Linked DNA regions of Homo sapiens: region 2 is linked to region 1. Evidence: promoter capture Hi-C in human tissues and cell types (Jung and others, 2019). All regions are on one chromosome and are shown on one strand. The core of a region is centred on a gene start or on the middle of the fragment in contact, and the rest is flanking DNA. Distances in the headings are between cores, read along the strand shown.

Region 1 (3,201 bases), core at 189-2,688:
ATTAAGACGGAGTCGTGCTCTGTTGCCCATGCTGGAGTGCAGTGGAGCGATCTTGGCTCACTGCACTTTCGCCTCCCGGGTTCAAGTAATTCTCCTGCCTTAGCCTCTCGAGTAGCTGGGACTACAGGCGCGCGCCACCACGCCCGGCTAGTTTTTTGTATTTTAGTAGAGACGGGGTTTCACCGTGTTGCCCAGGCTGGTCTCGAAGTCCTGAGCTCAGGCAATCCGCCCACCTCGGCCTCCTAAAGTGCTGGGATTACAGGTGTGAGCCACCGCGCCAGGCCCACTCCTATTTTTAGCTCCAGAGATTAGTTTTGCTTCAGGCTCCCTTAACGTCCTGCTTCAAACCCCTATCTGCCCCTTCATCGGCTCCACCTGGAGGCCACCGCTTCCACGGAAGCATGACCCCTTCCCCTGCACCCGCGCGCCCCAGAAGCTCTCAGATACCCCCACGATTTCGGTGACCTTCCGCAAGCTCCAGGAAAAGCCCCTCCTCTCCTGACGCCAAGGGTTTGTTGGGGTTGGGGGGTATCTCCATCAGCCTCCCTCCCCCAGCCACCCAAATTAACCAACAATCTTAGTAAATGCAGCGACTCGCTAGGCAAACCCAGCCTGGAGACAAATATCCGGCCCCTTTCCTACCAAACTGTCACACCTAGGCATTGGTCTGCAGGGAGGGCTGGACAGTGGAAACTGAAACCCTCTGCAAGCCATCACGAATCCACCGGGCACTGGGGACGCTGGCTCCCGCCTTGGCAGCATCCCCCAGAAGCCTGGGCCCTGACCCCACACCGTCTGGGCCTCAGTCTCTCATCGGTAAAGTCAGGGGTAGGGCCCGAGTCTTCCAGGACCGCTTCGAGCTGGGACAAGCCGTTTTAAATAGCCCACAACCCGCCGAGGCCATCAGAGCTGCGCCTGCCGGGCCGCCCTCGACCCCCACCTCGGCCGGGCAGGTCCGAGGCCCCGCAGGCAACATGGGCCCGCGGACTGCGGGACGGGGCTCGACGGCCTGAGATCGCGACTCTGCCTCTCCGATACTTGGGGTCGTCTTCGGCCCCGGGATCCGCGACGCGCGCGGTCGGACCCCGAATACTGAAGGCACCGGGTCCGCAGGGCGAAGGCGCACACGCCCACCAGGCGCGCTCTGCGCATGCGCGGGCTCCGCAATCTCAGCGGCCCACTCGCCCCGCCCCGCCCCCCCCACCCCCACCCCGCGCCGCTCCCCAGGCCCGGCCCTGCCTTCCCAGCATCCCGGCTCCCTACGGCAAGCGGCGAGGCCCGAGCCCGCCGGGAGCAGGGAGCCGGGCGCGGGGCGGGGCGGCGCGCTGAGGTCAGCGCGGCGGCGGCCGGCCCCGTAGTGGTTGGCTGCGCTGGTGCTGGCCGCGCCCTGGTTGGCTGCGGGCCGCGGGGCTGGGCCGCCGGGTCGGGGCTGGGGTCGGGCTCGGGCGCCGGCCGGGCTTGCGCAGCGCTAGGCTCCTCGCCGCTCCTAGTCTGCGGCGGCGGCGGCGGGGAGGGCGCGGCCGCGGGCGGGGCTGAGGGCGGCGGGGGCGGGCCGCCCGAGCTGGGAGGGCGGCGGCGCCGAGGGGAGGAGAGCGGCCCATGGACCCGCGGGGCCCGGCGCCCCAGACTCTGCGCCGTCGGGACGGAGCCCAAGATGTCGGCCTAGGCCGGGGCGCGACGACGCGGACGGGGCGGCGAGGAGGCGCCGCTGCTGCCGGGGCTCGCAGCCGCCGAGCCCCCGAGGGCGCGCCCTGACGGACTGGCCGAGCCGGCGGTGAGAGGCCGGCGCGTCGGGAGCGGGCCGCGCGGCACCATGTCGGCCAAGGTGCGGCTCAAGAAGCTGGAGCAGCTGCTCCTGGACGGGCCCTGGCGCAACGAGAGCGCCCTGAGCGTGGAAACGCTGCTCGACGTGCTCGTCTGCCTGTACACCGAGTGCAGCCACTCGGCCCTGCGCCGCGACAAGTACGTGGCCGAGTTCCTCGAGTGGGGTAAGTGCGCGCCGGCAGGGCCGGACCTGCGGCTCTGCGACCCCCGCGCCCCAGCCCGCGCATCCCCACGCCCGCCCATCCCCGCCCGGACAGACCCTGCCGCCCTCCTGCCCACCCAGCTCGTGGGCTTCGCCTCCTCTCGCTCTGGCAGCGCCCCCAGGCCCGCAGCCCATCTCTCTCCAGCCGCTCCTTGCACCCTCGTCCCTCCGCTAGCTTTTCATCCCTCCTTGCCCTCCCTAGGCTCGACATCCGCGTTCGATCGTCCCGCCCCCTCATCCTGCCCCTTGGAGCCACATCCTACGTTCCCACTCCCACCCCCTCCCCCCCGCCGGGCCCTCGCCCTGGCGGCTTCCTAGATCCACCCTCCGAGTCTGGATATCATTTCCTGCAGCACTCACTGGGATATCCGCCCCCGCCCCCGCCCCCGCCCCCGCACCTCGCCTTTGGGGTCCGGAGGCAGTGTGGAATTAGTTCCCTTTCCCCACCCCACGCTTCTCTGCGTTGTGGGGGCAGCTGGGTGTGCTTTCTGCATCTGCCTCGCCCACTGCCCCGTGGGACCCCCTTGCATCCCCAGGGAGCCCAGCTCTAACGGCCCCTCCTGGGTGACAGCCTGTCTACATCCCCTTGTTGGTCAGAGCCTGAATACCTACTTTGCTGTAACACCTTCAAGGGAATTTTAAGGTTAAGGCTTTATTTTAAATAAACCGTGCAAGAGGACTTTTTTTTTTTAATTCCAATTCTGCTAGACCTTTGTGATATTTGGAGGGGTAGCTGGAGCTATCACTTAGAAACTTTCTCATCTGAATTTTGCATGCCTTCTCTAGTTCGTTCCGGATCTATAATGTTTTAATCATTGGTCAGCTAACCTATTATGCTTTTTTAGGACAAAAATTTGATTAAACCATTTAACGATAATTAGGATCCTAAAGACAGGTAAAAGTGCAGCGTGAAACTCTTTTACTTCATCTCTCCCTAACGGGTGTGCCGGTCAAGACCCTCAGACTGTCTCACCTAAAACCACTGAGTAGGAGGAGGAAATGCGTATGTTCAGGCCAAACCTATGAAAACCTTATCCTTGGGTCATTTGCGTCACTGGGCTAGGACTGTTCAGTTCGAACCAGTAATTTCTAATCTTTGGGGCTGATAAAGCTGATATTTATACGAAGAAACAAATGAAAGTGTTCCACAGTGAGGCCTCCAGGCCTCCTACTCT
Region 2 (3,201 bases), core at 408-2,907, 270 kb after region 1:
CCTGTAATCCCAGCATTTTGGGAGTCTGAGGCAGGAGGTCTGCTTGAGGCCAGGAGTTTGAGATCAGCCTAGGCAACACAGCAAGACCCCATCACTAAAAAAAAAAAAAAAAAAAAAATCAATTAACTGGGCATATTGGTGCACACCTGTAATCCCAGCTACCTGGGAGGCTAAGGCAGGAGAACTGCTCAAGGTGAGGAATTTGAGACCAACCTGGGCAACACAGCAAGACCCTGTCTCCACAAAAATTAAAAAATTAGCAGGGTGTGGCAGCTTGCACCTATAGTAGTCCCAGCTACCGGGGAGGCTAAAGAAGGAGCACTGCTTGAGCCTGGGAGTTCAAGACTGCAGTGAGCTATGATCACATCACTGTACTCCAGCCTGGGCAAAAGAGTGAGACCTGGTCTGATAAAAAAAAAAAAAAAAAAAAAAAAAAAGTCCAGGCACAGTGGCTCGCACCTGTAATCCCAGCACTTTGGGAGGCCAAGGTGGGCTGACTGCTCAGGAGTTTGGGACTAGCCTGGGCAACATGGCGAAACCCATCTCTACCAAAAATAAAAAATAAAAAAAAACAGCAGGGCATTGTGGCATGTGCCTTTGGTCCCACCTACTCAGGAGGCTGAGGTGAGAGGATCGCTTGAGCCTGGGAGGCAGAGGTTGAAGTCAGCCATGATTGCACTACTGCACTCCAGCATGGGTGACAGAGCAAGACCCTGTGTCAAAAACAAAAAAAAAAAGGAAAGAAAGAAAACACAGCTAACTTCATAATCAATGGTGAAAAGCTTCCCCTAAGATCAGGAACAATATGAGGATGCTCACTTTCATCACTCCTATTCAAAATTTTACTAAATGTCTTAGCCAGAGCAATTAGGCAAGAAAAAGAAATAAAAGGCATTCAAATTAGAAAGAAGAGGTAAATTATATATGCAGGTGACATGATTCTGTATAAAGAAATCCCACAGAACCCACAAAATAACTACTAGAGGTAATAAATTCAACAAGGTTGTAGGGCATAAGACCAACATACAAAAATCAGTTGTTTCTATATACCAGCAATGAGCAATACAAAAAGAAAGGTAAGAAAATAATTTCATTTACAATAGAACCCACAAAAATAAAGCACCCAGAAATAAATTTATCCAAAGAGATGAATGATTTGTACACTAACACTACAAAATATTGCTTAAAGAAATTAAAGGAGACATAATTGAATGAAAAGACATCCCAAGTTCAGCTGGGCGCGGTGGCTCATACCTGTAATCCCAGCACTTTGGGAGGCCGAGGTGGGTGGATCACGAGATCAGGAGATTGAAACCATCCTGGCTAACACAGTTAAACCCCGTCTCTACAAAAAATACAAAAAATTAGCCAGGCATGGTGGCAGGTGCCTGTAGTCCCAGCTACTCGGGAGGCTGAGGCAGGAGAATGGCATGAACCCGGGAGGCGGAGGTTGCAGTGAGCCGAGACTGTGCCACTACACTCCAGCCTGGGGAACAGAGCGAGACTCCCTCTCGAAAAAAAAAAAAAAAAGAAAAGAAAAGACATCTCACGTTCATGGATTGGAGGACAATACTGTTAAGATTGCAACCCCCCAAAGCAATCTACAGAATCAATCCCCTCCCTATTAAAATTCCAATGACCTTTTTTGCAGAAATGAAAAAGGTGATATTCAAATTCATATAAAGTTGCAACTGGCCCCAAATAGTCAAAACAATATAGAAAATGAAAAAGTTGGGAGACTCATACTTCCCAAACTTACTACTTCAAAACTTACTACAAAGCTTCAGTAATCAAAACAGTGTGTGATATGGTTTGGCTGTGTCCCCATCCAAATCTCATATTGAATTGTAGCTCATATAATCCCCACATGTTATGGGAAGGAACCCAGGGGGAGGTAACTGAATCGTGGGGGTGCTGTTCTCATGATAGTAAGTCTCACAAGATCTGATGGTTTTATAAAGCACAGTTCCCCTGCACAGACTCTCTTGCCTGCTGCCATGTGAGACATACCTTTCCTCCTTCTTTGCCTTTCACCATGATTGTGAGGCCTCCCCAGCCATGTGAAACAATGAGTCCATTAAACCTCTTTTTCTTTATAAATTACCCTGTCTCAGGTATGTCTTTATTAGCAGCATGAGAACAGACTAATATAGTGTGGTACTGATGTAACAGACTTACAGAGCAACAGAATAGAACTGAGAGTCCAGAAATAAATGCAAACATCTATGGCCAATTTATTTTTAACAAGGGTGCCAAGACGATTCAATAGGGAAAGAATAGTGTTTTCAATAAATGGTGCTGGGAAAACTAAATAAGAACATACAAAGAATGAATTGGGACTCCTATCTCATTCCATATACAAGAATTAACTGAAATGGATCAAAAACCTAAAGGTAAAAACTAAAACAATAAAACTCAGAAGAGGCTGAGTGCAGTGGCTCACACCTATAATCCCAACACTTTGGGAGGCTGAGGTGGGTGGATCACTTGAGGCCAGGGGTTCTAGACCAGCCTGTGCAACATGGCAAAACCCCATCTCTACTAAAAATACAAAAATTAGCCAGGCATGGTGGCGTGTGCCTGTAGTCCCAGTTACTCAGGAGACTGAGGCATGAGAATTGCTGGAACCCAGGAGGCGGAGATTGCAGTGAGCCAAGATCATGCCACTGCACCACTGCACTCCAGCCTGGGCAACAGAAGGAGACTCGGTCTCAAAAAAAAGAAGAAAAAAAAAAAGTTTAACATTCAGAATATATAAAGAACTCAACAAACATTGTCTTCCCTCCAAAAATACACAAATGGCCAAGAGTCACATGAAAAGACATTCAATATCTTTGCTCATCAAGAAAATACAAACCCAAACCACGAGATACCACTTTAACTAGAATAGCTTTAAACAAAAATATATACATACATATACACATACCACACACACACACACACACACACACACACATATATCCTTTTGTAGTTCATAAGTGTGATTGGGTATTCAAATGAAGGTGTGAGAGGTGCCACTCTGAAACCTTGTTATGACGTCGGCACATTACCCATATGACATGAAAAAGAAACAAAACAAAAAAAATAAATTTAGCAAAGATGTCCTGAAATTGGAACACTGCTGGTGGGAATAAGTTAAACACGATATTACCGTATGACCAGCAATTCCACTCCTAGGTATATACCCAAGTGAAATAAAAA

The links. Contacts are between HindIII fragments. The study calls those that stand out against the background at their distance.
Region 2: a contact is called between a fragment that was not itself captured here and the fragment with the promoter of CDC42BPB in region 1, in 1 of the 25 tissues and cell types used here (dorsolateral prefrontal cortex).

Annotation. Positions count from the first base shown.
Region 1 is chr14:103,055,786-103,058,986 of GRCh38, reverse strand. It overlaps CDC42BPB (CDC42 binding protein kinase beta), which reads left to right and starts at 1,438. Exons shown (of 37, transcript NM_006035.4): 1 at 1,438-1,988. The coding sequence starts at 1,814. RefSeq lists an enhancer at 301-951 and silencers at 947-1,056, 1,097-1,596, 1,687-1,766. The HindIII fragment of the contact is 24,533 bases long and covers 1-3,201 here.
Region 2 is chr14:102,789,350-102,792,550 of GRCh38, reverse strand. The region is part of intron 1 of TRAF3 (TNF receptor associated factor 3); the gene reads right to left. It overlaps LOC124903426 (small nucleolar RNA U13), which reads left to right and starts at 2,960; the gene lies at 2,960-3,060. RefSeq lists an enhancer at 2,014-2,083. The HindIII fragment of the contact is 5,003 bases long and covers 1-3,201 here.